Linked DNA regions of Homo sapiens: all the other regions are linked to region 6. The links are contacts of gene promoters, found by promoter capture Hi-C in blood cells and fetal thymus (Javierre and others, 2016). All regions are on one chromosome and are shown on one strand. Each heading gives the region's core, a stretch centred on a gene start or on the middle of the fragment in contact. The rest is flanking DNA. Distances are from core to core; before and after follow the strand shown. Region 1 overlaps ZNF791 (zinc finger protein 791). Region 2 overlaps ZNF439 (zinc finger protein 439). Region 3 has its middle 2.8 kb from the start of ZNF491. Region 4 has its middle 11 kb from the start of ZNF439. Region 5 has its middle 5.9 kb from the start of ZNF69. Region 6 holds the start of ZNF44 (zinc finger protein 44).

The links. Contacts are between HindIII fragments. The CHiCAGO score rates a contact against its expected background, and 5 or more counts as called.
Region 1: a fragment that was not itself captured here is called in contact with the fragment with the promoter of ZNF44 in region 6 in 1 of 17 cell types (erythroblasts); the score reaches 5.5 in erythroblasts.
Region 2: a fragment that was not itself captured here is called in contact with the fragment with the promoter of ZNF44 in region 6 in 1 of 17 cell types (monocytes); the score reaches 5.2 in monocytes.
Region 3: a fragment that was not itself captured here is called in contact with the fragment with the promoter of ZNF44 in region 6 in 1 of 17 cell types (monocytes); the score reaches 6.6 in monocytes.
Region 4: a contact is called between a fragment that was not itself captured here and the fragment with the promoter of ZNF44 in region 6, in 4 of 17 cell types (M1 macrophages, monocytes, M2 macrophages and 1 more). The highest score is 7.3, in M1 macrophages.
Region 5: a fragment that was not itself captured here is called in contact with the fragment with the promoter of ZNF44 in region 6 in 4 of 17 cell types (erythroblasts, total CD4 T cells, monocytes and 1 more); the score reaches 7.8 in erythroblasts.

Annotation. Positions count from the first base shown.
Region 1 is chr19:12,631,753-12,634,946 of GRCh38, reverse strand. ZNF791 (zinc finger protein 791) reads right to left here. Exons shown (of 4, transcript NM_153358.3): 4 at 1,113-3,194. It overlaps LOC105372279 (a long non-coding RNA gene), which reads left to right. Exons shown (of 4, transcript XR_007067142.1): 4 at 459-1,808. Among named protein-coding and RNA genes, the nearest start is that of ZNF791, 22 kb to the right of the region's middle. The HindIII fragment of the contact is 1,798 bases long and covers 910-2,707 here.
Region 2 is chr19:11,862,687-11,865,962 of GRCh38, reverse strand. All of the region lies in intron 1 of ZNF439 (zinc finger protein 439), which reads right to left. Among named protein-coding and RNA genes, the nearest start is that of ZNF439, 16 kb to the right of the region's middle. The HindIII fragment of the contact is 6,893 bases long and covers 1-3,276 here.
Region 3 is chr19:11,794,157-11,797,300 of GRCh38, reverse strand. No RefSeq gene overlaps it. Among named protein-coding and RNA genes, the nearest start is that of ZNF491, 2.8 kb to the left of the region's middle. The HindIII fragment of the contact is 3,535 bases long and covers 41-3,144 here.
Region 4 is chr19:11,836,310-11,839,920 of GRCh38, reverse strand. It overlaps the pseudogene VN2R13P. Among named protein-coding and RNA genes, the nearest start is that of ZNF439, 11 kb to the left of the region's middle. The HindIII fragment of the contact is 1,799 bases long and covers 576-2,374 here.
Region 5 is chr19:11,880,134-11,883,669 of GRCh38, reverse strand. No RefSeq gene overlaps it. Among named protein-coding and RNA genes, the nearest start is that of ZNF69, 5.9 kb to the left of the region's middle. RefSeq lists an enhancer at 2,170-2,349. The HindIII fragment of the contact is 2,118 bases long and covers 698-2,815 here.
Region 6 is chr19:12,293,567-12,296,926 of GRCh38, reverse strand. ZNF44 (zinc finger protein 44) reads left to right here and starts at 2,044. Exons shown (of 4, transcript NM_016264.4): 1 at 2,044-2,235. The coding sequence starts at 2,233. RefSeq lists an enhancer at 1,660-1,709 and a silencer at 2,260-2,489. The HindIII fragment of the contact is 16,141 bases long and covers 1-3,360 here.

The DNA of each region.
Region 1 (3,194 bases), core at 559-3,058, 340 kb before region 6:
GTGCTCTCTCTGCCTCTGTTTTTTCATGTGTAAGATGGGAGGAATCCCAGCACTTTGGGAGGCTGAGGTGGGTGGATCACCTGAGGCTAGGAGTTCCAGACCAGCCTGACCAACATGGTGAAACCCTATCTCTACCAAAAATACAAAAATTAGCTGGGCATGTTGGCACATGCCTGTAATCCCAGCTACTCGGGAGGCTGAGGCAGGAGAATTGCTTGAGCCTCGGAGGCAGAGGTTTCAGTGAGCTGAGATCGCGCCATTGCACTCCAGCCTAGGCGACAGAGTGAGACTCTGTCTCAAATAAATAAATAAATAAATAAGTCTATGAAACATTTATTTCTGGAATTTTCCACTAAGTATTTTTGGACTGTGTTTGACCATGAGTGACTAAAACCACAGAAAGCAAAACTTTGGATCAGAATTGACTACTGTATTACCATAATTAATTCTGAATACAGGTGTGACCGTGGTGATTGCTGGCAATAGGGCACTGAAAATACCACTGTTTTGAAGAGAATTTTGTTTTATGACAAAATGTAAGTATAAGAATAAAAAACATCTAAGGGAAAAATACCAGAACATTTATGCACATGCTAATATTGAGTCAGAATGTATCTTGACAAAATGACAAAGTTGATCTGAATATTCATAACTGTAATGGGATATTTTAATATAGCCTTTCAGGAAACGGGGAAGACAATTATTTGTTTTTGAACTAATAGAGATGGGGTCTTACTATGTTGCCCAGGCTGGTCTCCAACTTCAGGCCTCAAGCAATCCTGCCTCAGCCTCCCAAATTGTTGGGATTACAGCCATGAGCCACTGCACCCAGATGATGATAATATTTGATAGTATACATGTTGTTTGGAAACAGTTAACAAAATATTTCTAAGAAACATCTAAGAAGCTTTTGCTTCAAATAAATAAAAAATGCATTATTTTAGTTGCATACAACCAAACATAAATGAAAATAAACCGATGGAGAATATTCAGGAATAGTTGGAAACACCCACAATTTGTCTGATATGAGGAAGGTGATTATTCTCAAATGGAAGGATGGGGGAGAGTAGTCACTGTATAATGCAGTAAGAGAACAAACTCCCATATAGTTGTTTTTTTTTTTTTTTACTGTTTTACTGTAGCTGTCATGGTGGAATCAGGAATACATAGTCCCTAGTGGCATTAACAGAACAAGAACCATACAAATTAAAGCTCATAGAAACACAAAGGGAAGACAGAACCTCAGAGAACAATGCCAACCATGACAGTCTGAAATAGATGCTTGGGCCACACATGAAGGCTAGAAGGAAAATCCAAACTGTACGTGGATCTTTGATGCGGAGCTTGTGGAGACAACTGTGGAAACCAACACATCTCTTTGAGAATGGAAGTCAAGCAGCTCAGGGTGTTTTCAGGATACTTTTGATTGGCAGAGAAAATAACCAGGAAAATGAGCAGGAAGCAGGCTGTCTCCCTGTATGGTGGGGTTCCAATACCTGACTAATGTCTTCTTCACTTCTGCCTGGCAAATCTCATGCAAGTGAGGCTATAAGTGAATTTCAACATGGATCTATAAAGGGAACAGATTCTAGGAAATTTACCTGTGTCGACAGGTAGCAGGAGGGCCACGTCCAGCTCTAGATTTTATTGTCCTATCACAGGTGTCCTTCCTGAATTCAAACTCTACTATTCAAATCCCAGACAGAATTATAAAAAAAAGGCGAAAATAATAATTCGCATAAGAATATATGATAAACTTCACATACTTACCAACTTATGCCAGATGTTTAATAAAAAGGAAAATGGAATAAGGCTCTTCTAGCTGAAATTCATTTTATTTATTTATTTATTTGAGATGGAGTCTCGTTCTGCTGCCCAGGCTGGATTGCAGTGGCACGATCTCGGCTCACTGCAAGCTCCGCCTCCCGGGTTCACACCATTCTCCTGCCTCAGACTCCTGAGTAGCTGGGACTACAGACGCCCGCCACCATGCCCAGCTAATTTTTTGTATTTATAGTAGAGACGGGGTTTCACTGTATTAGCCAGGATGGTCTCAATCTCCTGACTTCGTGATCCGCCCACCTCGGCCTCCCAAAGTGCTGGGATTACAGGTGTGAGCCACTGCGCCCGGCAAGAAATTTATTATATTTTAATTTAATTTTTTTGATATGGAGTCTCGTTCTGTTGTCCAGGCTGGAGTGCAGTGGTGTGATCTTGGCTCACTGCAACCTCTGACTTCCAGGTTCAAGCATTTCTCCTGCCTCAGCCTCCCAAGTAGCTGAGATTACAGGTGCCCTCCAACATGCCCAGCTAATTTTTGTATTTTTAGTAGAGATGGGATTTCACCATGTTGGCCAGGTTGGTCTCGAACTCCTGACCTCAAGTGATCTGCTTGCCTTGGTTTCCCAAAGTGCTGGAATTACAAAGGAGTGAGCCACCGTGTCTGGCCAAGAAATTTAAAAAGCAGTTTTTCGGAAAAGGTGAAATAAATATATAATGGGTAATATATGCACCACCTTCCACATGAGGCCAGTAGGAAAAATCCTAGTTACAGTGTGTCAGTATTCAACAATCTCTTTATTCAGAGAACAACTGAAAAACTATACACAAATTAAAACTAATTGTATATTAAAAATACACTTCTACTAACACTGGTCTTTAAAAGAAAAAAAAAATACACTTCAGGCCGGGTGCGGTGGCTCAAGCTTGTAATCCCAGCACTTTGGGAGGCTGAGGCGGTCGAATCACGAGGTCAGGAGATTGAGACCATCCTGGCTTAACACGGTGAAACCCCATCTCTACTAAAAATACAAAAAAAATTAGCTGGGCATGGTGGCGGGCGCCTGCAGTCCCAGCTACTGGGGAGGCTGAGGCAGGAGAATGGCGTGGACCCGGGAGGCGGAGCTTGCAGTGAGCCGAGATCACACCGCTGAACTCCAGCCTGGGCAACAGAGCAAGACTCCGTCTCGAAAAAAAAAAAATACACTTCAGTTTACTCATGAATCAAGACATCAAGAGAAAGAGAAAAGTTTTACTAACTGATTTAATGAGAAAACACAACCTTTTAAACTTTTGACCACTGCTTAAAGAGTACTTACAGAATTATCTCACTTCCAAGACTTCTTGGAAAAGTAGTTAAGTTACAATTCATAGTCCAGAGATGTACTTGAAGAATGAGCCAGTGATAAAAAATT
Region 2 (3,276 bases), core at 753-3,252, 430 kb after region 6:
GCTCACTGCCGGGGTTCAAGTGCTTCTTCTGCCTCAGCCTCCCGAGTAGCTGGGATTACAGGCATGCACCAGCATACCCGGCTAATTTTGTATTTTTAGTAGAGACAGGGTTTCTCCATGTTGGTCAGGCTGGTCTCGAACTCCCAACCTCAGGTGATCCACCTGCCTCAGAGTCACAAAGTGCTAGGATTACAGGCATGAGCCACCACACCCAGACAGCAATTTTTTTTTTTTTTTTTTTTTTTTTTTTGTGATAGTGTATCGCTCTGTCAGCTGCTTGGGCTGTCCCTAATGTCTCCTTGGACTGTGGGTCTGTAGCACCTGTCATAACAGAGTACTATGAATTAATATGCAGAAAAAAGTTAACATTAGCAGTCCTGAAGCTGTGTATCCTTGAAAATGCCTGTTCCCAAAGTGTAATCTTTGATGACATTGTTAGAGAAGGCAGATATCTAGCCAAGAGCAGGAAGGGTAGCCCCTGGGAAATCCCACAACCCCAGGGACCACCCAAAACAGGCATGCTAGATATAAGCAGAGAGGAGGGGAGACACCTAAGTAGAAAGAAACATCCATTATGATGCCCAGGAATCATTCAGTTTGCAGTTATCCTGTCAGAATGTAGCTAGATAGATGCTGATAAGAAGGGCAAACAGGACATTACTGAAAAAAACAAGACCGTAATTACACAAGAGGGCAAACAAGAAACTCCTAAGAGATACCCAGGTGTAATGAGCACAGATTTAACCACTATACGACCTTCCTGGGGTGGCAGTAATGAGCAATGCAGCCACCCACATATCCATTGATGGCTGAATGGATAAACAAAATGTGGTAAGCATATACATACAATGGAATATTATTTAGTCTTAGAAAATAACATCTTGGCCTGGTGCGGTGGCTCATGCCTGTAATCCCAGCACTTTGGGAGGTGGAGGCGGGCAGATCACCTGAGGTTGGGAGTTCAAGACCAGTGTGACCAACATAGAGAAACCTTGTCTCTACTAAAAATACAAAATTAGCCGGGCATGGTGGCGCATGCCTGTAATCCCAGCTACTCAGGAGGCTGAGGCAGGAAAATTGCTTGAGGTTGGGGTCAGTCAATATTGTGCCATTGCACTCCAGCCTGGGCAACAAGAGTGAAACTGCATCTCAAAAAAAAAAAAGAAAGAAAGAAAACAATATCTTGGCCCATACTACGACATATATGAAACATCAGGATAATTGCAAAAGGCAAAATACAACAGAATTCATCTTAGAGAACTTACATAGATTTGTCAACCTATCTCAATTGTACATGTAAAATTCCTTAAGCTGATAATTTTTAAGTTTTGTTTTATAGTAAGTATTGATAACAAATCACGGTAGCAGCCAGGCGTGTTGGCTTATGCCTGCAATCCCAGCACTTTAGGAGGCCAAGGTAGGTGGTTCACTTGAGGTCAGCAGTGTGAGACCAGCCTGGCTAACATGGTGGAACTCCATCTCTACTAAAAACACAAAAATTAGCCAGGCGTGCAGCGAGTGCCTGTATTCTCTGTTACTTGGAAGGCTGAGGTGGGAGAATCCTTTGAACCCGGGAGGCAGAGGTTGCAGTGAGCCAAAATCCCACCATTGCACTCTAGCCTGGGCGACAGAGTGAGACTCCATCTCAAATCAAACAAAAAATGAGAAGAATGTCCTAATAGAGGCAGAAAAGGCATGTGACAAGCCTTAACCCATTTGAGCCCACTGTTCCATTTCTGGAACGCTAAGCATGTGGGAGTTATTTGTATCCTACTGCTCAAGGTCATTACCAAAGTCTGATTTTTCACACGTCTGCAATTCAAAAAATTGCAACCTCTAGCATAAATGGGTTGATATCTCCTCATGATTAAAAACACTTAATAAACTAAATATACAAGAGAAGATTCCATATGATCGCAAGAGAGGCACTAGGAACATAGAAAAATCTACTATAAAGACAAGTATTAAAAATGCAAAACCGGAGGTCAAGGCGGACAGATCATTTGAGCCCCGCAGTTCGAGACCAGCCTGGGCAACATAGTGAGACCCTGTATCCATAATAAAATAAATAATTAGACATGGTGGCACAAAACAAATGGTACTGAAACACCTGGATTAGCAAATGCAAAGAAATGAATTAGACACAGAACTGAACCTTTTACAAAACTACCTCCTGATGAATCATTTACTTAAATGGAAAATGCAAAACTCACAACTTCTAGAACTTAACACTTGTGAAAACCAAGACAACCTTGGATTTGGCAATCAGGTTTCACACACAACACAAAAAACATGATCTGTGAGTGAGAAAATCGATAAATTGGACTTCATTCAAAATAAAACTCTGTTTGGGAAAAGAGTCTGTTAAGAGAATAAAAAGACAGGTGGCAGACTGGGACACAATATTTGCAGGACACCTATCTGATCAAGGACTGGTACCCAAAAGATATGAAGAACTCCTAGAATTCTATAAGAAAAAAGCCAACTAATCAAAAAATAAAAAGGCCGGGCATGGTGGCTCATGCTTGTAATCCCAGCACTTTGGGAGGCTGAGGAGGGTAGATCACTGAGGTCAGGAGGTTGAGACCAACCTGGCTAACATGGTGAAACCCCGCCTCTACTAAAAATACAAAAATTAGCTGGGCGTGGTGGCATGAGCCTGTAATCCCAGCTACTCGGGAGGCTGAGGCAGGAGAATCACTTGATCCTGGGAGGCAGAGGTTGCAGTGAGCTGAGCCGAGACTGTGCCACGGCACTCCAGCCTGGGCCAGAGAGCCAGACTACAACTCAAAAAAAAAAAAAAAAAAAAAGCAAAATCTTTCCAAGCATACCTCTCTCTAAAGAACATAATTATGGCAAACAAACATATGACAGGATGCTCTACATTACATGTTATTAAAGAGCAAATGAAAACAGGCTGGGCACGATGGCTCATGTCTATAATCCAACAGTTTGGGAGGCCGAGGCAGGTGGATCACCTGAGGTCAGGAGTTTGAGACCAGCGTGACCAACAAGGTAAAATCTCATCTCTACTAATAATACAAAAATTGGCTGGGCATGGCGGTACATGCCTGTAATCCCAGCTACTTGGGAGGCTGAGGCAGAAGAATCACTGGAACTGGGGAGGCAGAAGCTGCAGTGAGCTGAGATCACGCCATTGCATTCCAGCCTGGGCAAAAAGAGCAAAACTCCGTCTCCAAAAGAAGAAAAAAAAAAACAACAGAAAACAACAATGAGGTAACAGTAAATACCTGTTGCGGTAGATGAAATCCAAAA
Region 3 (3,144 bases), core at 559-3,058, 500 kb after region 6:
GGCTGAGGTGGGAAGATCTTGAGCCCAGGAGTTTGAAGCTTCAGTGACCTATGATCTCGCCACTGTGCTTCAGCAAGAGTTGTGATAGTTGTATCAGATAAAATAGACTTTAAATAAAAAACAGTACAAAAAGACAAAGAAGATCATGAGATACTGATAACAGAATCAATTCAGCAAGATAATATAGTAATACTAAATATATATGCATCCAACATTGGAGAGGCCAAATTAATAAAGCAAATATTTCTAGACCTAAAGAAAGATATAGATAGCAATACAATAATAGTATGGGACTTCAGCACCTCACACACAGTAGTAGATATATCATCAAGACAGACAATCAACAAAAAAATTGGACTTAAGTTGGACTTTGGACCAAATGGAGCTAACAGACGTTTACAGAACCCAACAACTGCAGAATATACATTCTTCTCATCAGTACGTGAAACATTCTCCAAGGTAGACCATATGTTAGGCCACAAAACTAGTCTCGACAAATTTTAAAGTCAAAATCATTTCAAGCATCTTCTCAGACTGCTGAATAAAACTAAAAATCAATACCAAGAGGAACTTTGAAAACTGTATAAATACATGGAAATTAAACAATGTGCTCCTGAATGATCTCTGAGTCAAAGAAGAAATAAAAACAGAAAATAAAAATTTTGTTTGAAATGAACAAAAATGGCAACACAACATATCAAAACCTCTGGGATATAGGAAAAGTCATGCTAAGAGGGAAGTTTATAGAATTATATGCCTCTGTCAAAAAAGTAACAAATTAACAACCTAACATGGTACCCCATGGAACTAGGAAAACAAGAACAAAACAAATCCAAAGTTGGCAGAAAAGAAATAACAAAGATCAGAGCAGAATTAAACAAAATCAAGACTAAAAAACAACACAAATGATAAACGAAACAAAAAGTTGGTTCTTTGAAAATATCAACAAAAGTAATAAACTGCTGGCTAGACTAACCAAGAAAAAAAAGAAGATTCAAATGAACAAAACCAGAATTGAAAAAGAAGACATTACACCAATACCACAGAAATACCATCAGAGACTACTATGAACAACTATATGCTCACAACCTAGAAAACCTATAGGTTTTTTTGAAACGTATAACCTCCCAGGATTGAACCAAGAAGAAACAGATATCCTGAATAGACCAATAATAAGTAGCAATATTGAATCAGCAATAAAAAAATTCCCAAAAATGAAAGCTCTGGGCCAGACAGATTTATACCAAAATTGTACCAAATAGGCCAGATGTGGTGGCTCATGCCTGTAATCATAGCACTGTGGAGCCTGAGACAGGAGGATTGCTTGAGGCCAGGAGTTTGAGACCACCCTGGCCAACATAACAAGATCCCATCTCTAAGTAAAAAAATAAAAATTTAAAAATCAACATTAAAAAAATTATACCAAACATACAAAAAGAACTATACTAATAATCCTGAAACTGTCCCTAAAAATCACAGACAAGGGAAATCTCCCTAACTCATTCTATGAGGCCAGTAACATCCTAATACCAAAAACAGACAAGGACACAACAACAAAACTACAGACCAATATCCCCGATGAACACGGATGTGAAAATCCCCAACAAAACACTAGCAAACTGAATCCAACCGCACATTAAAAAGATAATACAGCATGATAAAGTAGGTTTTATACCAGGAATGCAAAAATGGTCCAACACACACAAGTTAATATATGTAACACATCACAAAAACAGAATGAAGAATAAAAACCATATGATCATCTCAATAGATTTAGAAAACACACTTGATAAAATTCAGCATCCTTCATGATAAAAGCTCAAAAAACTAGGTACAGAATGAACATATCTCAAAATAATAAAAGCCACACATGATAAACACACAGCCAACATCATACTGAATGGGGAAATAGTTGAATGATAAAAACTAGAACAAGATTAAGGATGCCTACTTTCACCACTCTTATTCAACCCTAGTATAGGAAGTCTTGGCCAGAGCAATCAGGCAAGAGAAAGAAATAAAAGACATGCAAATTGGAAAAGAGGAAGTCAAATTATTCCTGTTCAGTGATATATAATCTTACATCTAGAAACGCTTAAGACTCCACCAAAAATCTCTTAGATTAGTTAAATTAATTCAGGAGTTTCAGGATACAAAGTCAGTGTACAAAAGTCAGCAGTGTTTCTATACAGCAACAACAATCTAGCTGAGAACCAAATCGAGAAAGCAATACCACTTACGAGAGCTACCAAATAACACCCCACCCCACATGGGAATATATTGCACCAAGGAGGTGAAAGGCCTCTACAAAAAGAAAAAATCTATAAAACACTGATTAAAGAATTACAGATGACACAAACAAATGGAAAAAACATTTCATGCTTATGGAAAGAACTAATATCAGAAGAATTAATTTCATTAATTATTCAGAAAGAATTAATATCATTAAAATGACTATACTTCCCAAAGCAATCTACAGAGTCAATGCAATTCTTATCAAAATACCAATGTTAGTTTTCACATAATTAGGAAAAACAATCCTAAAATTCATATAGAACCAAAAAAGTGCCCGAATAACCAAAGCAATCCTAAACAAAAAGAACAAAGTTGGAGGCAATGTTACAGGACAGGGGTCCCAATCCAGACCCCAAGAGAGGGTTTTCGAATTTCCTGCAAGAAAGAGTTCAAGGCAAGTCTGCAGTGCAAAGTAAAAGCAAGTTTATTAAGAAAGTAAAGTGGTGAAAGAACAGCTACTCCCCAGAAAGAGTTGGATGTTTCTGTAAGTAAGAGGAGGAACGCATCCACCCTAGGTACAATGATGCTTGTATATATGGGCAGATGTGCTCTGCTATAAGGGTCCATGATAAAGGATTAATTTTCTTAATTACTATATTTTGCAAGAATTGATATTATTATCTTTAAAGCAAAATTAGAAATGCCTTTGTTCTCCAGATATTGGGATATCTGGACACTACCAAGTCTGGGTCTTGGTAAACATTATTAATTTGTTCCTTTAACTGTAAACACCTAGAAGCGAGGTATGCCTAACTTTCTGGGAATGAAGCCCAGCAATTCCCAGCCTCACTTTCCTAGCCCTCAGAATGGAGTCGCTCTGGTTCGAATGCCTCTGACAGCAACACATTA
Region 4 (3,611 bases), core at 226-2,725, 460 kb after region 6:
TATCTAACCCTTTCAGTCAATAAACATATTGAGAAATGTGTTTACACTACTATGTAATTGCTCCTTCCCTGTGCATGTCAAAAAGATTCTCTTCCTTGTTCTTAGGCTGTAAATGATTAGAAAAGACAGAGAAGTGCCAGAGGTAGGATCCTTTTGAGACCACTACCCCTCCTTACAAAAAGTTAAAGCAGGCCGGCTGCAGTGGCTCACACCTGTAATCCCAGCACTTTGGGAGGCCGAGGCAGGCGGATCATGAGGTCAGGAGTTTGAGACCAGCCTGACCAACATGGTGAACTCCGTCTTTACTAAAAATACTAAAATTAGCCGGGCATGGTGGCACGTGCCTGTAATCCCAGCTACTCAGGAGTCTGAGGCAGGAGAATTGCTTGAACCCGGGAGGTGGAGGTTGCAGTGAGCTGAGATTGCGCCATTGCACTCCAGCCTGGGCGACCGAACAAGACTCCATCCAAAAAAAAAAGTTAAAGCAATCATCCTTGAAATTTGGTAGCTGCAACCTATCAAATCACTGAAATGTGTGCACCGGCCTTGTATGGAAAATGTCACCCTGTTAAGCTTCATTTTGCCCTATAGAAGAGAAGACTCAAATTCCCCGTGTTGGAGCACTGACCCCACTCTTCAGGATATCTGTTTCCCCAGTGGCTATCCTCAAACTATGTGCTCAGATAAACTCAGCATTTAATCATATTCTCTGAATCTTATTATCTTATTAAGGTGCACAATATTATTTCATTATTATTTCCATGATAACAAAGCACATACTACACATTAATCATATGTGAACACAAACATATGACAACAGTTGCCAGCCAGGTCTTACCCCACAGATAACAGGAAGAAGAAGAGTTATCCACCATTACAAGTTCCCCAACCTGCAAAGGAGGACTGGTATTTTGCTGAATCTTTGTAATTCACCAATTTATCTACTATACTTTATTGTGGAAGATTATTCATTTTCTCAAGCTGTAATAAAAGATTTTCTCTATTTCTTTTCCCAATCAGCATTCTCAACGCTATGCCCTGAAACTCTGTTACAAATCATCCAAAAATGGCCATGCACTGTGGCTCAAACTTGTAATACCAGCACTTTGGGTGTAGTGGTGTGTGCCTGTGGTCTCAGCTACTACGGAGGCTGAGGTGGGAGGATAGCTTGTGCCTGGAAGATGGAGATTGCAGTGAGCTGAGATTGTGCTACCTCATCCCAGTCTGGGCAACAAAGCCAGACCCTATCTTAAAAAAAAAAAAAGGAAAGAAAGAAAGAAAAAGAAATAAAGAAATCATCCACAAAAAAGGACAGACTTAAGAAATGTACTACACCACATCTGAAGAAGAAAAAAATTAAGAATTTTGAGACTGGGTGCGGTGGCTCACGCCTGTAATCCCAGCACTTTGGGAGGCCAAGGCTTGTGGATAACAAGGCCAGGAGTTCGAGACCAGCTTGGCCAATATCGTGAAACCCCATCTCTACTAAAAATACAAAAATTAGCCAGGTGTGGTGGCACGTGCCTGTGATCCCAGCTACTCAGGAGGCTGAGGCAGGAGAATCACTTGAACCCAGGAGGCAGAGGTTGCAATGCCCCGAGATCACACCAATGCATTCCAGCCTGGGTGAGAGAGCGAGACTTTGTCTCAAAAAAAAAAAATTTTTTTTTTGAAACAAATGCTATATAAGACTAATGATTTATTTCTGACATCTATTTTTATCTTGGCTCTGTGCAAAATTTTCTTATTTTTCCAGCTGTAGTGAAAATGCAATTTACAATTAATTTTAAAAATCTGAAGCTGCAATAAGTGAACAAATATATATATATATATATATATATTTTTTTTTTTTTTAGAAGGGCTCTCACTCTGTGGCCCAGGCCGGAGTGCAGTGCTGCAATCACAGTTCACTGCAGCATCAATCTCCCAGGCTCAGGTTATCCTTCTGCCTCAGCCTCCTGGATAGCTGGGAGTACAGGTACGTGCCACCATATCCAGCTAATTTTTTGTATTTTTTGTAGAGAAGAGGTTTTGTCATGTTGCCATGGCAGGTCTTGAGCTCCTGGGCTCAAGTGATCCTCCTTCCTTGGCCTCTGTGAGCCACTGTGTCCAGCAACAAATAATTCTTTACAAGGGAACAAACCCTGTCTGGGTATGGCGGCTCATGCTTGTAATCCTAGCACTTTCGGAGACTGAGCTGGGAGGATTGCTTGAGAAAAAGAATTAGATAACAGCCTGGGCAACATAGCATAATCCTGTCCCTATTACTTAAAAGTCTAAATAAAAGTCTGAAAAGCAGCATTTCCCACCTATTCTCTATGAGGGAGCCTTCATCTACATAACAAGGTCTCCTTAGCTACACAGGAGGTAAGCTTCTTCCTTTCCTCTTCCCTAATCTGTCTTGCCATTAAACCTGACTTACCCACCAAACCCGGGATTTTTTGGCCAGCCAAGTCTGCATTCTTTCTTGGCCTCAGAATGGTAATATAAGCTTTTTTGTCTTATTGTTGGGTGGGTCTTCATTCTGAAGGCTCCCATATATACATGTTAAATAAATTTGTATGACTCTTCTCCTATTAATCCAAGTTCCATGATCTGAAAAAATTTTTCCTGTCTTTTCACCTTATTTTATAAAAAAAGTGCAAGACCATGTATATCTAAAAATGAGCATTTTTGTATCTCAGAAATCAAGATATTTTCCATATATAACCAGAAAATGGTATTCATATTTAAAAATGTCCTAATATCAACACATTGAGGGATATTAAAACATCATTAATAGCGTAAAGTGGAATTCTGGAAGCTTAGCTTTGAATACATTTCATTTTGTCTGTTAAACATTGAAGAGAGTATGTGGTGTTAGGATATGTATTTGGTTTTCATCTAGGGTAATAATGTTGGGTATGTTAGGCCTCCGGGAAAGTCCTTGACCTTCTGCTGCCCTCCTTCCACTCTAATGTTTCCCCACCTTTTTGATTGTGGGTCTTAAAACCCTCCCATGAGAGGGTCCCACTGACTTCATGAAGTTTTTTCCTACAGAGTGTAGCCTTGGAAATACTCATTATATACCCTATCTGTAGCTGTGTGTCTGAAGGTAGTTCCAGAATAAACCATGAGTGTGAGGATTGCTTAAATAACTTATTTCTAAATGCTGAAACAAAAATTTCAGATTTCCTTGTCTAACCAGATGCAGAAAAGCATATGTTATAGATAAAGCATCAGGACTCAAGCAGGCACCAATGTCCCTGACTTTCAAAATTAGTGGCCTTCCTGGCATGTGAACACCCTTTGGGCCTGTGCTCCAGTGTCCTCTTTGGGGTGCTCCTTGGGCTCTTTGTGAAGCATCAAGACACCCCCATAGTCTAGGCCGATGTCAGGCTCTCCAGTGTGTCCTGTTCATCACCCTCAGCCTGCATTTTCATTGTCATTGTCATTGGCCATTCCAACACTGTGTTTGCATCCTGTGGAAAGTCACATTTGGGGTCAAGTGAATGGTGTTGTTTCTACTCTTTGGTGAAAAGTATCAGGGTGTATTTGGCCTTCAAGGGAGAAGGATGAGGCAGGGGTTGGATTCAGGTGCATCCAACTCTTTCTTTTTTTCTTCTGGAGAC
Region 5 (3,536 bases), core at 507-3,006, 410 kb after region 6:
GACTCGGGTGTGATGGGTCTATCCTTTCTCTGCTGTCCAGACTGCAGTTTCAATGGTGGGAAGTACTAGGCCAGCTCCTCAGGCCGGTGTTGACGCACTGGGAACTCCAGGAGCCGCACCTGTACTGGAAAATTGTGAGTTTTGAGGGAAGAGAAAGTGGAAGATAAACCAAGTATGTAGGAATGTTGGCAGTGGATTGCTTTGAGAGGTAGTTTGGATTAATAGGAAGACAGAAGACATTTGAGTTATGGCAACTAAGTTTCTAGACTTGTTTGGCTAAGGATGTACATTTTCATACACATATAAACTTTAACTGTGCTATACATAGCTTGAGGTCTTTAATGGGTCCTCTAATTTAGGTGGGATAGGACTTCTTTCATAAGAGGTTTAAATAACATTTGAATTCCCTTCAGTGCCTACAGGAGAAACGGCAGCTGGTTCGGATTATCTGATTTGCTAGGTTATTTTCTTAACTCTTGAAAGATAGGATTTTTGGTGCCTGGGGACGTGGAAAATAGCTTTTTTTTTTTTTCTGGTAACTGAAGGTTATTTAACACTTGGGTTATTAACTCTTCATGAACAAGGCTTTGACCTTTATTATTGTCTGAAATTTTCTAAATGTATGAGCCACGATAAAGGTGTATTTAGAATCAATATAGATTAGTATAGATGGTTCCTTTGCAGTTACTTTAAAGCTTGACTAAGTGCAAACAGCTTACAAATTTGGGTAAACTATTAAACAATTTTTAAATTTTATTTCTCTAGGAACTTCTCTATTTATTATTGAACATCTGTTGAATCCTTTTTCCTTTAATCATTTTTGAAGGGGGTTTCTCTTAAGTTTGGCCGGACATTTGTATGGTAATCAGTTAAATCTAAACATGTGTGCTTCCTTTTTAGATTTGGATCTTTCGTTAAGAAACTTGTTAGGTTAAGCAAATTACTAGTAACATTAAACTATCATTTTTAACAGAATAGCCTCATATTTATACACATGTAATTCTTTTTTGGTGGTACATTTTAACATAGGTGACTTTAAAGAATCAGAGTTCTTTTCTGGTGGATATTTTCACTTTTAACACTGGCCTGACTATAATAAATGCTAGTGGATATATCCGCTGAAAGATTATCTACTTCTTGCTCAGGAAACTTAGCTGCGGGGATGCCAGGCTGCTTGGAGCCATCGCTGAAGCCCCGTATTACTTAGCCTCAGCAAAGTAAGGCAGATATCCTATAATGTAGTTTGCATGGGGCATAGGCTGGGGCCTGGCTCGCATGTCATGCAGAGCTGCCGTCAATACAGTGCCAGGACCTTGGACCAGCCAGTGGGCAGGAGCATGGGCTTTGCCGCTGCAGGGGTGCACTATGGGCCAGACAACGCTGACAACATGTTGCGGCAGATCCTTCATGTTGCTAGCCTGGCAAAAGCCATCTGGTGAATTAGGAGCTTGGAGTTCTTTAGGGGAGAGGGACTTAGGCTGGGGAAGAACAGACTTACTGGGCGATGCCTGAGGGGAAGGGTTGGGTATTAGGTGGGGAATGGTCTAGGGGATCTTGCGAGTTGTTCTTTTTGCTAGGATCCCCCAAGCCCCTTCCTTCACTGTCTTTTTCATTAAAGATGGTTCTATCTTAATAGGGCACATGTACAACTCATTTTCCTCCAAATATTAGTTTTTGACTTGCTCCTTTCAATCCTTGGAGGAGGGGAAAGGACAACTCCTTGCAACTAACATAGGGCATAATTTGTTTCTTCTCAGGAGGCAGGTCTTCTACTAGCAACATTTTCTATTAGAAGTTCACAAATCCATCCCTCATTCGACTTAAATTCTGGCCAGAAAACTAAGGGTTCAAGGATTCGTTCTTGAGTCTAAATGGAACAGCAATATTTTATCACTAATTGCTTTTTCTTATGTTTAGTCTTTTCATTATCTTTCTAATGTTTTAACATGAGACCTAGGGGACTATTAGGGGGGATATCTTTGTTGCTAACTTTGTCTTTTTTGCTTGTAATATTTCCTATACTGGGTCCTGGCTAGGCTCAATCCCTCGTGATAGGAATCTCTTGCCTAGGGGGGCTTGCTGTGGCTCAACCCCTCATATTAAGGATCTCTTGCCTATTTTGGGGGTTCCTTGTGGCTCAGCCTCTCAAATTAAGGATCTCTTGCCTATTTGGGGGGTTCCTTGTGGCTCAACCCCTCATATTAGGAGGTCTTTTGCCTATCCCTCACTGGAAGTGTGGCTAAGGCTCAATTCCACTATCCTTTAGCTCCACCTGCTGGAGGTTCCTTGCACCCTTCTTTCGCTTCATCCACTCTGGCCGCTTCCCTCGCAGGTTTGTTTCAGGTTCCTCTTAGCATTGATGGCAGGTCCGTATAAACCTGTGACAGGACCCCCGCAGGGCTGCCCTAAGCCGTGTGAGGTGACCACAGAACCGCAGATTGGACTCACTCGCTCCGCACAGCAGTAGTGCTTGTTACCATTCATGCACTTTCAACCCCCAGAATGCCCTGACACACCCCTCCGACTACCAAAGAATTACTTTGTTGCCCCTGCAACGTTTCCCACCTTGGTCTGTGCACAGAGTTTACCTGGTCGCTGCGGTATTGCAAGCCTCTCTTCCCCGCGTTGCTGAGAGTCCGGGTTTATTCGTCAAAATGGGTGGGTCTCGATCTCCTGTCCCTGAGGCCACCGCAATGGGGCAGTGGGACGCGTCTCCCCAGGGTAGGGTGACTGAAGAACTCTTCCAAAAGGAGCATGGGGATCTCGGACGATCCCCTAGAATTGTTGGATATAAAATGCTCCCGGAATAAAAGCTTGGTGCCGTGAAGTAAAACCAGCACTCAGGCAAAATTTTAATTCTCTCAGCAAGGCAATTTACTACTGCAGAAGGGTGCCACTCACGTCAATCAAGATCACAAGAGCACAGAGAACAAAGGAGACCAGGAGGTTTTTATCCTTAATGCGGTCCCTATCTCTGTGTTACTCCCCCATGGGCTGGGGTCGGACCGCACAGTCTGAGCTGACCCGATTGGCTGCTTGTACATATTTTTCTAAATATAGAAGGGGAGGGGGATGTGAGGTACAGAGGTGGAGCATGTGAGATGTGCAGTTTTGGGGGAACAATGGGTACAGGTAACCAAGGGAACAGATGTGAGTTATTGATTAGAGCTGATGGGAACGGGGTAGGCTGTTTTAAAGTAACTAGGGGCAAGGAGGAACAGGAAAGTTGAGTTTGAGAACAAAAGACGAGGAAGTTAGCAGGCTAAATCTTTAAAGAAAAACTTAAAGAAATTCACTGTATCTTACAAATCTGACCCCAGTGGCCCCATGCATGTCAAACCCCAAACCCTGCCCAGAAGACAGCCCCAGGCTCCAGAGGTACAACACCAGAAAGGACAGAACCCCCACACATACGTGTGCATGTGGGTCTTCTGCTTTCCAGGGCTCTTCAGCTTCTCGGAATCCGCACTCCTTCTGGAGCTGCTCTGAGCAATTGGAGGCCACCTGTAGGGGAGGGCGGGCTGCCCGGAAGCCCC
Region 6 (3,360 bases), core at 795-3,294:
TTATGGCAGTGGAAGAGATCTGAGCCAACACCCGTTCTGCCCCGCCCCGCCCCCCGCCCCTGCCAACCCTCTGTCTTCTCTTTCCCTTAATCCTGGGCTCTTAGGCACAGCTAACTTTGGAAGATAGCTTAAATGATAATAAGCCTTCCCCAAAACTCAACTGCCTTTGTAAAACGAATGAATGGCCATCAGGCTGAGGGATGAAAGGAATCGGAATGCTGCTAAAGTGTAGACATAGATTGCCAGCTATTTCTGCAGATAACACCACTATTGTAGATTAGCATTTGTAGACGTATTTTCAGTTTTTGTTTGTTTGTTTGTTTTTTTTTTGCATGTCTGACACCACCTGCACCTGCCAACTCTGCTCCTGTGGCCCCAACCAGAAGTGATTCAGCATAACAGGATAGGTTTTTTTTTTTTTTGTCTTTTTTTTGTTTTTTTTTGAGACGGAGTTTCGCTCTTGTTGCCCAGGCTGGAGTGCAAAGGCACGATCTCGGCTTGGCGCGATCTCAGCTCACCGCAACCTCCACCTCCCGGGTTCAAGTGATTCTCCCGCCTTAGCCTCCCAGGTAGCTGGGATTACAGACATGTGCCACCACGCCCAGCTAATTTTGTATTTTTAGTAGAGACGAGCTTTCTCCATGTTGGTCAGGCTGGTCTCAAACTCCCGACCTCAGGTGATCCGCCCGCCTGGGCCTCCCAAAGTTCTGGGATTACAGGTGTGAGCCACCGGGCCCGGCCTCTTTTTTTCTTTTTTAAATATGTAGCAGTACAAGCCGCAGACAAGAACCCCTCAGACACCGAGTTGTGGAAGGAAAGGGCTTTATTCAGCTGGGCTGGGAGCATCGGCGGACTCACGTCTCCAAAAACCGAGCTCCCCGAGTGAGCAATTCTTGTCCCTTTTAAGGGCTTACAACTAGGAGTCCGCGTGAGAGGGTCGTGATTGATGGAGCAAACAGTGGGTACGTGACTGGGGGCTGCATGCACCGGTAACCAGAACTGAACAGAACAGGACAGGGATTTTCACAGTGCTTTTCCATACAATGTCTGGAATCATAGATAACACAGTTAGGTCAGAGGTTGATTTTTAACTACCCAGCCCAGGGCACAAGCCGGGTTATCTGCCTGTGGATTTCATTTCTGCCTTTTAGTTTTTACTTCTTCTTTGGAGGCAGAAATTGGGCATAAGACAATATGAGGGGTGGTCTCCTCCCTTATAGTATAGAGACGGAGTTTCACTCTATGTCCAGGCTGGTCTTGAACTACTGGCCTCAAGCGATCCTCCCACCTAGGCCTCCCAAAGTATTGGGATTACAGCGGTGAGCCACCACGCACTGCCAAGAGGACAGATTCCATCCCCAGTGATTTCATCCCCACCCCAACCAGTCAGTAGCAAGCCTAGCTACCTCCACCCTTTCTCCCAAACTGCCCTTGAAAAACCCCTACCAGAGGACCTTGGATGAGAATAATTTGAGTAGTAACTCCGTCTCTCACGTATCGTAGCTGGCCTAGTGTTTATTAAACTTTTTTTTTAACTGCAATACCGTGGTCTTTATTTGCGTAGCGCGCAGAAAGAACCCATCCAGCGCTTATAGTGGAAGAAAGGCTTGACCTTGCAGGCGACAGCCTCATCCCAAATTCCTGGTCCCTGGAGGACATCAGCACCACCCCCCCACCCACCCACCCCCTGTCCCCCGCTGCTACAGTGTGGCCTGTGTGGCCTCGGCTGCCCTCCTGCTCTGAGGCCAAGGGATGGCTCCACTGGACAGTGAGTCTGGGATTCCTTGCACACAATTGTTCAGGAGGAAGAAGCAAAAAGGGCCCACTGCGTACAGGTAGGAAATTCCGCTTTAAGGCAAACGTTTCCCGGGACGGGTCGGGTCACAACGCAGGGAGGAAGCCCGCCCTGCCAGGGGCCGGGTCTGGAACCTGTTCATCCGGCTGCACTCAGCACTGTGAGATCGCTTCTTCTGTCACTCAGTGCCCAGGAGGCGGGACCTGGAGGGCTACCCAATCAAAGTCGTGGGCGGGTTCCTGAGAATTGTCAATCAGGCGCGAGGCAGAGAGGAGGGTGTGACGTTCCAGGAGCTAGTGGCCTCTTCACCCTGGTGACCTCTGTTCCGTATTCTGTCACTGAGAGACGCCCTGGGACATCTGTGGTGGCTTTTGTCGCGCTGGGACCTACCCTGACTACGGGAGTTGGGAGGACCCGGGACACCGCACAGCCGGGAAATGGTGAGTGTGCGGGGCCCGGCGTCCTGAGGCAGGGCGAAGGGCTGGTCGGAACCAGTCGGAACCGGCTGTGGCGGGACCCGGGCCTCGCCGCAGCGTCTTTGGGGTCTGGGACCTGAGCGCCCCCTGCGCACCTCGGTCCTCGGTCCGTTTGGCCGCAGGGTGGGGCTGGGCCGGCAGCCGGGACCCCGGGCGTCCTGTCCCGTCCCTGAGCTGCGACTGCGGCCCCGGCCCCGGCGCCCCTCTCTGGGCAGCTCCGCGCCCTCAGCCCCGCTTCTCCCCAGATTGTGCGGCGGAACCAGTACAGGTTCGCAGCCCAAGTCACTGCACCCGGACGCCGAGGGCTGCAGCAGAAACGGTTTAATAGGAGAGGACACCCTAGATCCGCCTCCGTGAGAGGTTTGAGGATGGGGTGTTTAGGGGTCTGGACGGGGGTGGTTGGGATGTGGGGTCGCTGGTTGGTGGAGAAGTGAGGGGTGAATCTTGGGACTGGAGGTGAAGAAACCGCATTCTGCTGCTGAGTGGGCTTCCTTGTGGGGTCTTCAGCCTGCTTGGCGCCAGCCTTTCCGCTGGAATTCAAGATCTGAGAAAGAACTTAGACGACTCTTGAGCAACTCTCAGAGATCTTATCCCCAGGCCAATGGGGAAGCCGGCGGTCAGCGTCTGCTGTGACCTGACTCTCAGGGAGGCGGCTTCCTGTGAAGCAGCGGGGCTGAGGGCACCTGGTTAATATCTAACTGCAATCTCGCCTCCAGCCTGGCTCGCAGTTCCTGTGAGCCCGGTGAGGAGGCTGCACGGTGACGGTGGGAGGGTCACTAGGCACAAACCAGACTCGTGTGTGGGGTTTGTGTGTGGGAGGAGCTGTGGTCTCTGTGCTCTTCAGTCCTTTCTTTCCAAGGGCGACCATTTCTCCTCCGAGGCTTTCAAAGATATTGGCATCAGGGTCTTTGAGACCTGTCCCTTCATCCTAACTCCTCTTGGGGCTAACAGTAAATCTTTTGGTTTCCAGAGCCTTCCATATGCTAACTTCACTCCTCAATTCCCAGTAACGTTATGAACCCTTTGTCAGCAAGACGATATTTCAAATAGACACAGAATTTTGTCGTTTGTTTTCAGATAGCAATGTAT